Regions from separate parts of the Homo sapiens genome. Here all the other regions are linked to region 2. Evidence: promoter capture Hi-C in human tissues and cell types (Jung and others, 2019). All regions are on one chromosome and are shown on one strand. The core of a region is centred on a gene start or on the middle of the fragment in contact, and the rest is flanking DNA. Distances in the headings are between cores, read along the strand shown.

Region 1 (2,911 bases), core at 411-2,910, 180 kb before region 2:
AAGTTACAGTGAGCTGAGATTGTGCCACTGCACTCCAGCCTGGGTGACAGAGTCAGACCCTGTCTCAAAAAAAAAAAAAAAAACAATTGCACCACCACACCCAGCTAATTTTGGTATTTTTTAGAGAGACAGGGTTTCACCACGTTGCCCAGCTGGGCTCAGACCCCTCTACTCAAGCAGTCCGAACCCCTTGGCCTCCCAAAGTGCTGGGATTACAGGCGTGAGCCACCGCGCCTGGCCAGATTATGTTTCTTATCAGACTTAAAGTCAGTGTTGATGTTAAATGCTGGTGAGCTTTTCCTGAATTCCAGAAGGGAGGAGGCCACAATGAGGCCTGTCTGACTCCCCTCTTCCCATAATGGCCTGAACCAGTCTTTCAGATGAAATTTGGATGGCCCTGGCCTAGAAGAGGAAGTCCATTCAGATGGTTGGCAGGCCTTGGGATTTTAATTTTGGTTTACACAATTTTGAAATTATTTGCATATAAAATTATTAGGAAAATTATTTGAAATTATTTGGAAGAAAGATTGTTGCCTGAGTTGGTCTGTCCCTTTCTACTGTGACTGGACACAAAATATCAGTTGTATTTGGTGCAGAATTTTTCTGTGGAGTTGCTCCTGAGTGAGCATTATTGTGCAGCTCTGATACTGGCCTGGCCCAGGAGCTCGGACAACCAGAGTCCTCTCTGAGTAGACACTGGTGCGAATTTAGAAATGGGACTTAGCAGGCCGGGCACGGTGGCTCACACCTGTAATCCCAGCACTTTGGGAGGCTGAGGTGGGCGGATTACATGAGGTCAGGAGTTCAAGACCAACCTGGCCAACATGATGAAACTCATCTCTACTGAAAATATGAAAATTAGCCAGGTGTGGTGGCGTATGCCTGTAATCCCAGCTACTCGGGAGGCTGAGGCAGGAGAATCGCTTGAACCCGGGAGGCAGAGGTTGCCGTGAGCCAAGATCACACCACTGCGCTCCAGCCTGGGCGACAGAGTGAGACTTCGTCTTAAAAAAAAAAGAAAAGAAAGAAAAGTTTATATGAATATCCAGTCAAAACAAACAAGGAAGGTATTACCCTTGAAATGTTGTCTATACGAATTTCCAAGGAGACCACAGGACTGTAGACTGTCTTGGAATGTCCTCAGAGAGCTCTGTCATTGATCAGGTAACGGAATAAAAACCCCAGCGTCCTTTCTTTCAAATGGGAGAGGGAAAGACAAAGGGACAGAAGCCGTTCAAACTTTGTCTTCTTTCCTTGTGGCTTGTGGTCACCTCTGCCTCCCCAGAAGCTGCCTCGCCCACCAAAGCCTTCCTGGCTTCTGCCACCACCTCATCCTCCAAAGCTTCCTCTACCTCCATCACAACCCCAAAGCCACCTTCGCCCTTAGGTTTGGCCCAGTCCAAGTTACCTTTGTTTCCCTCAATTTCACCATCTTCCGCGGCCTCCTTGGCGCTTTTGGCATCCTCCTCACTGTTGCCATCTACAGAGCCAAAGCCTTTGGGGCACCCGGTTTCCTGGTTGGTGACTACCCTTGCCCAACAAAGCTGTCGAATGACTAAAGCCTCTTCAGTGGTGTCCTCAGACAGGCCTTTGACAGACAGTTTTAGATGGCTGGCTCCTGGCATCAGGTGGTCCTTGCAACTCCAGCCTGATTGCCCTGCCCCCAGTTTCCCTTTTATTACAGGAATTTAAAGCTGCTTTATCATCTTCAAATGAAGCGAACTGTAAGTGCATGCACACCCTTTAGATTTGCCATTTTGGTTCTGGGGCACTTTGATAAAAGTTGCCTTGTCTCAGATTCTTTCTGAAGAGTTTCTTCTGTTGCACTGTAGGAGAGGTTGCTTAAACCAGAGTTTTTGATTCACCCCTCCAAGTGGTCTCTCTAGTCTTGATTTAGACCTTTCTCTCCATGATAGTGCAGGGAAATAGATCGGCCATCCATCTCTGTTCCCTGCGTTTCTTCAGAAGTTTTCTCTGCATTAGCTTCTGTCTTAACCTCAATATAAGCAGTCCCTTTACTCTTCCCATCCTTGCTGACTAATCCAATCTCCACAGCATCTTCAAACACTTTTTTGTTTTTTGAGCCAGAGTCTCGCTCTGTTGCCCAGGCTGGAGTGCAGTGGCCGTGATCTCAGCTCACTGCAAGCTCCACCTCCCAAGTTTGCGCCATTTTCCTGCCTCAGCCTCCCGAGTAGCTGGGACTACAGGCACCCGTCACCACACCCAGCTAATTTTTTGTATTTTTAGTAGAGACAGGGTTTCACCGTGTTAGCCAGGATGGTCTTGATCTCCTGACCTCGTGATCTGCCTGCCTTGGCCTCCCAAAGTGCTGGGATTACAGGTGTGAGCCACTGCGCCACTGCGCCCAGCCAAAACACTTGTAATTCATCCTGAGTGACTTTGTAAGGGAGATTTGTAGCCAAAAGTATTCTCACATCTTGCTCTTTCTTACTGTCTTTTCCTTTTGGTTTCTCTAGTTTAATTTCATTGCCAAAGTCTTTCAAACCAGCGAGTTCCAAGGCTCTTTCCAGGTCTTCAGCAGCTTGAAAATCCACATAGTCAGATTTCCTTGTCATACCCATTCTGACATCCACAACAGCAAGATCATTTTTAGCAAAAATATCATGGATACTAGTTTTTGTTTTTCTTTCTTTTTCGAGACAGGGTCTTGCTCTGTTACCCAGGCTGGAGTGCAATGGTGCTCACTGCAGCTTCCACCTCCCGGGTTCAAGTGATTCTCCTGCCTCAGCCTCCCCAGTAGCTGGGACTACAGGCACGCACCACTACGCCCGGCTAATTTTTGTATTTTTAGTAGAGACAGGGTTTCATTATGTTGGCCAGGCTGGTCTCAAACTCCTGACCTTGTGATCTGTCCACCTCAGCCTCCCAAAGTGCTGGGATTACAGGCGTG
Region 2 (2,757 bases), core at 240-2,739:
GGGCGCGCAGCAGCTGCTGGTACAGGGCTAGGGGGCAGGCGGCGCGGTGAGGACCAGGCCCAGGGCGCCCTCCCGCCTGGGCACCCGACCCCCTGACCCCGCTTCACCTTCGTCCTGCGCGGGCACCGGGTTCTTGATGAACGCGGAGAACTTGTGGAAAACGTCGTTGCCGGCGGTGTTGGACTCCCTGTAACGAGGCGCCAGGCTGGGGAAGCTGCGGGATGAGGGGGTGGGACTCCATTAGACTGGGGGCAGCCCCGTCCCGGCCCCACAGTACCCCCACAGCGCCTTCCTGGGCTCTGTCTTGCGCGCGTCCTCCCTGGGCCCCCCTCTTTTCCCCTCCCACCCTGCCGGGGCTCTCACTCGGGCGGCCCCAGCGTCTCCTCCAGAAAGTCCTCGATCTGCAGCGTGTCTGTCTTGGCGTCGCTGTCATAGAGCAGGATGGGCAGCTGCGAGCCGGGGGCGAAGTCCTTCAGCACGTCCGGGGACCTGCGGGCAGCAGCGGGGTGGGAGGAGGCCGGCCCACCAGTGTGCGAGGCCAGGCGGGGGTCCACAGGATGGGGCCTCACCTGCGCGTGTCCACCGTGGTGAGGGTGAAAGGTACGCCCTTGAGGAGCAGGACCATGAAGAGCCGCTGGCAGGAGGGGCAGTGACCCACGCTCTCCCCGTCCTCACTCGCCTGGGTGGGTGGAGCGGGGGTGGGGGGTCAGGGCTGGAAGCAGACCCAGGCATCCTGCCGCCAGGCTGGGCGGGACCCGCCTCCCACTGCCAGTGGGATTGGAGGGACGCCAGGGCTCCAGCTTGGTCGGCGCGACTTCCAAGTGCCCAGTGAGGGCCCTTGACTTGGTCCCCAGAACGTGGGGAGGGGGGCAGAGCTGCTGGGAGCCTTGAGGCCTGGGGCAGGCTTGGCCCCTGGAATCTTGTCAGAGCCTGGACAGAGGCCAGGCCCCTGGGCTCAGTCCCCAAAAGCTGGTTGCAGGGGTGGGGTGGGCCTCACAAGCTGTTTTCTGAGTGATTCACACATGAGACTGGGCACTGTGGCCAACAGCACATCAGTCCCCCACCCCAGTCCCCGACCTGAGAGCTGATGGGGCTGCCTGGCCCAGCACCCCCCATCCTGGAACACCGACCGTAAGCTCCACTGTTGGCAGCCTGCTTGGTACCTCCCCACCAAGGAGCTCTCCTCCAGAAGACTGGGCTGGGCCCAGGAGCCAAGGCTGGGAGCAGGACCAGGGCCACTGACCCCTCTCTGGGTGACTCGCTGGGTCCCACTTTACTCAGCCTCTGTAGGGCTGCCTGAGTCCCCCTAGCCACCCACAGGAAGGGGCTCAGACATTACTGGGAGGCCCACCCCACAGCCTGCCACAGAAAGCAAAGCCCAGAAAAGCGCTTCCTCCCAGACACCCTCCCCGCAGCTGAGTCCGCCCTGCACCTTGACAAACAGCTGGAGCTTGGTCTCCGCCATGGTGGGAGCTGCCGCGGTCAGGCGCGGGTGGGGACCTGGGGAGCTCTTTAAGTCTCCCTGTGCGCCCCGCCCTCCCTGGCCGAGGGGCCCGCCCCGTGGAGCCACCTAGGCGGGCAGATGAAGCTGCCCAGCGCGCAGAACCAGCTGCCTGAGCAACGCCAGCCCGGCCCCGGGGTGTCTGAGCCTGAGGGTGTGACCTCAGGGTGGCGGAATGGTGTGGGGGGCTGCCCTGGACTTGAGTCTGGTGTGCACGGAGATCCGCCCACCCGGTACTGAGTGTGCTGGGAGCCAGCGTGGTGGGTGGAGACCAGGGGGCAGGGCATAGGGAGAGCCTACAGGCCAGAAGGGTGCAGGGGGTGTCACCTGGGAAGGGGGCGGCTCTGGGTCAGGACCACCTCCACCGTGAACCCAGCTCAGACCCTGCCCTATGGCTCTCCCTTCCGCAAATACCCCTTGTCAGGGCTCCCAGCCCAGAAAGCCAGTGGGTGTGGGTGAGCAGGAGAAATGGCCTGCCCAGCCTGGCTTCAGTTCCCCATCTGCAGCACCAGGGCATCGGGAGGGTGATAAGCCCACCTGGGGGAGCCGCCCCTTCCCAGCTACGGAGCAGTCAGGCAGGGCCCTCCCCGCTCAGGGCAGGGCTCAAATTCCAGACCTGCCCGCAACAGGGCGGGGAGGCCAGCCTGGCTTTGGTGTTTGGCCGGCAGTGCAGGTCTCCACCCCACCTCCCATCCCTCCCACTGGCGCTCAGCGCAGGTTTCTTACCCCCAACCCCTTAACCTTTAAAAAGAAGCAGCAGGAGAGGGGTTAGAAGCCACAGCCTGCGTGGCTGGAAGAAAGAGGCCAGGGGAGGGTGGTGGTCCACAGGTGTGAGCCTGCGCTGAGCCTCCTGGCGTGATTGGAACCCACAGTTCAGTCTGGCCCTTTGGGGTCGCCAACTGTGCCTTCCTCCCACCTGGCCCTGACGCTTTAGGGTGCAGCCCCAGGGAGGTACACCGAGGGGAGATTCCACCCAGAGACCTGGGGTGCCCACAGGATTGGCCTGGCCACACCTCCCCCAGGCGGTGTGGTGCCTCACCAGCCTGGACAGGGCAGCTGAGGTGGCACTGCTCTCCTGCTCACCTTCTCCCCAGGGCCTTGGTACGGGCCCCTCATCCGTCCCCGGTGGAACACACTCCAGTGCTGCCCCAGTCAGCCCAGCCTGATGCTTCTCTGGATACCACGCCAGTCGGGGCTCCTGGACACAGAGCCTTGGAAATACCATGTGGCTGCCCCATCCTTTGGTGTCCTGAACC
Region 3 (3,109 bases), core at 495-2,994, 240 kb after region 2:
GGGAGATGGAGGTTGCAGTGAGCCGAGATCATGCCACTGCACTCCAGCCTGAGCGACGGAGCCAGACTCTGTCTCAAAAAAAAAAAAAAAAAAAAATAGCCAGGCGTGGTGGTGCACACCTGTAGTTCCAGCTACTTGGGAAGGTGAGGCAGGCGAATTGCTTGAACCGGGGAGGCAGAGGTTGCAGCGAGCTGAGATTGCGCCACTGCACTCCAGCCTAGGCGACAAGAGCAAAACTCCATCTCAAAAAAAAAAGAAAAAAGCTACAAAAATGTAGAAGGCACGGCGGCTCATTCCCGTAAATCCGAGCACTTGGGGAGGCCGAGGCGGGCGGATCACTTGAGGTCAGGAGTTTCAGACCAGCTTGGCCAACATGGTGAAATCCCATTTCTACCAAAAATACAAAAATTAGCGGCGTGGTGGTGGGTGCCTGCAGTCCCACCTACTGGGGAGGCTGAGGCAGAAGAATCGCTTGAACCTGGGGGGGGGCGGGGAGCCAAGATCGCGCCACTGCACTCCAGCCCGGGAGACAGAGCGAGACTCTGTCTCAGAATAATAAATTAAGTAAAATAAAAATGCTGCAAAAATACAGCCCGTTTGTTTTTAAACAGGCGCAACCACATGTAATTCATTTTAAGTTTCTTTTCCCACCCAAGTAAAAATCAAGTCATAAATTAGGAAAAGCATTAACAGAAGTATGTTTCAGCCCCAGCGCGCTGACCTGTGGTTGGAATACCGGCCCTGGAGCCCGGAGGTCGGGGCCCACCCGCCGAGGGAGGTCTGGGCGCTGTCCTGGTCTCCACGGAGCTCGCGCACTCACGGGGCCGAGGCACCAAGGCGACCGGCGCAGAGCCAGCGCCGTCTCCACAACAGGGCAGGGCGCGCAGCTGCGGGGGAGGCCTCGCCCCTCCGCTCCCCTCCCCTGCCCTCCGCCCCGGCCCTCGGGGCGCGGCGTCCCCCACGTGCTCCCCTCACGCGACCGCGAGGGCAGTGGGCGTGCGGCACCCGGGAGCAGGAAACTCCGTGGCCTCTGCGGCTCTGTGGAGAGCTCCCCTCCACCGCCGCAGCCCCCGAGCCCGTGTATCTTCCTGCCTTTAAGGCATCGCAGCCTCCTCGGCCTGGAGGCCCCGGGCTCGCTCCGTGCGGACCCCGCTCCAGAACCCGCCCAGCGCGCAGATGCCGTGTCCCGGCGCAAGGCCAGAGAGGGCGCAACTCTGGACGTGGGGCCGCCACCGAGCCTGCCCTTCCCGGCTCCCGAAAGGCCCCGGGCTCAGAGCCAAGACTGCGCTTGCCCGAGGCCCGTCGGGCCCGCCCTCCCTCGGCGCCCCCAGCGCAGCTGCCCGCCGCCCGACCGGAAGCCCGCACTCGCGCCTGCGCCCCACCCCGTCCGCGCGCCGGCCGCGGCACTGCGGCGGTTACCAGGACGCTGAAGCAGCGCAGCCAATAGCGCCAGCCTGGCGGCGTGCTCCCGGCAGCCAGCCAATGAGACGGCAAATCAATCATTTGAAACACCCAATGGACGGAGCACTGCGGCGCCAGGAGGGGGATTGTGATAGGGAGATAGGAGGCTGCGGCTGACCAATAAAGACCAAACTGGCTTAAAAAGGCGGACCTTAGGCAGCTTGATTGACGGGGGCAAGGCCAATCAAACGAGGGAGCTTGCCAGCCTCGTTCTGGCAGCCCATTCCGAGACTAGCGGAGGCGGGCAGGGAGGGTATATAAGCGTTGGCGGAGCGTCGGTTGTAGCACTCTGCGCGCCCGCTCTTCTGCTGCTGTTTGTCTACTTCCTCCTGCTTCCCCGCCGCCGCCGCCGCCATCATGAGGGAAATCGTGCACTTGCAGGCCGGGCAGTGCGGCAACCAAATCGGCGCCAAGGTAAGTTGCCGGGGCGCTGGGGCCAGGCGGGCCTGCCGGGCGGTGTGGGCGGGCGGCCGGGGAAGATGGCGGCAGCAGCGGCCGGGCGGCGCCCCCGCATTGCGGCCGCCGGGCCCCCTCCGCGGGGAATTGGCCGAGCCGGGCGACCGAAGCCCCCAGGAACCCGGCGGCCAGGGCGCGCGGGGCGGGGGAGGGGCGGGGAGGGCCGGGCTGCCGCGCCCGTCCGGGGCGGGGCTGCCTCCCTGCGCACCGGCCGCGGTGACTCAGCCCCGGCCCGCCCGGGCCCGCCCGCGTCCCTTGTAGTTTTGGGAGGTGATCAGCGATGAGCACGGCATCGACCCCACGGGCACCTACCACGGGGACAGCGACCTGCAGCTGGAACGCATCAACGTGTACTACAATGAGGCCACCGGTGAGGCCCCGGCCCCTTCCCCGACCGCCCTCCGGGGACCCCGCGGCCCCTGCCTTGGCTGACGCCCTCCCGTCCCCGCAGGCGGCAAGTACGTGCCCCGCGCCGTGCTCGTGGATCTGGAGCCCGGCACCATGGACTCCGTGCGCTCGGGGCCCTTCGGGCAGATCTTCCGGCCGGACAACTTCGTTTTCGGTGAGCCGTGGCTGGGGACTGGGCGGCGGCTCAAAGGTCAAGGGGCTGCTCCAAGGGCACCGCCGTGGGAACTGCGCAGCCGGGGCCCCTGGACGCCCTCCTCTTCTCTGAGCCACTCAATCCCCTCTACTAAATCGGCTTTGGGAGCAAGGTCCAGCTGTCTGCCGAGGCGAGGAGCCGCCACACACGTAATCTCCCTGCAGGGAGCTGAGCTGGGGCAGTGGCTGTTCCTCTGTCCTTGGGAATTGGCAGTGGCCCCCCCGGGGAGGGGTTTGTTAAGCTGTCAGGTTTGGCCCCTGACTTAATTCGTAGCAGGGCAGGCTGCCGTCTTTTGGCTTTGAAGGGTCCGTTTGCTCTACCTCCAGGGTGAATTCTGTGGTCAGCTCACACCATGTCACTCGGCTTTTTTCGCATGGCGGTGACCAGTAGTGCTGTCTACCTGGCTGACAAATGATTAGCTGTGTTCTCTCACAGGTCAGAGTGGTGCTGGGAACAACTGGGCCAAGGGGCACTACACAGAAGGCGCGGAGCTGGTGGACTCGGTGCTGGATGTTGTGAGAAAGGAGGCTGAGAGCTGTGACTGCCTGCAGGGTTTCCAGCTGACCCACTCCCTGGGTGGGGGGACTGGGT

The links. The method cuts DNA at HindIII sites, captures the fragments that hold promoters and counts their contacts. A contact is called where the count stands out against the background at its distance.
Region 1: a fragment that was not itself captured here is called in contact with the fragment with the promoter of CLIC3 in region 2 in 2 of the 25 tissues and cell types used here (dorsolateral prefrontal cortex and spleen).
Region 3: a contact is called between the fragment with the promoter of TUBB4B here and the fragment with the promoter of CLIC3 in region 2, in 1 of the 25 tissues and cell types used here (heart right ventricle).

Annotation. Positions count from the first base shown.
Region 1 is chr9:136,811,552-136,814,462 of GRCh38, forward strand. All of the region lies in intron 1 of RABL6 (RAB, member RAS oncogene family like 6), which reads left to right. It also overlaps the pseudogene NCLP1. Among named protein-coding and RNA genes, the nearest start is that of CCDC183-AS1, 4.2 kb to the left of the region's middle. The HindIII fragment of the contact is 4,462 bases long and covers 1-2,911 here.
Region 2 is chr9:136,995,079-136,997,835 of GRCh38, forward strand. CLIC3 (chloride intracellular channel 3) reads right to left here and starts at 1,490. Exons shown (of 6, transcript NM_004669.3): 1 at 1,433-1,490; 2 at 570-679; 3 at 364-489; 4 at 108-214; 5 at 1-27. The coding sequence starts at 1,465. The HindIII fragment of the contact is 25,713 bases long and covers 1-2,757 here.
Region 3 is chr9:137,239,543-137,242,651 of GRCh38, forward strand. TUBB4B (tubulin beta 4B class IVb) reads left to right here and starts at 1,745. Exons shown (of 4, transcript NM_006088.6): 1 at 1,745-1,875; 2 at 2,179-2,287; 3 at 2,369-2,479; 4 at 2,954-3,109. The coding sequence starts at 1,819. RefSeq lists silencers at 770-1,589, 1,920-2,149. The HindIII fragment of the contact is 17,682 bases long and covers 300-3,109 here.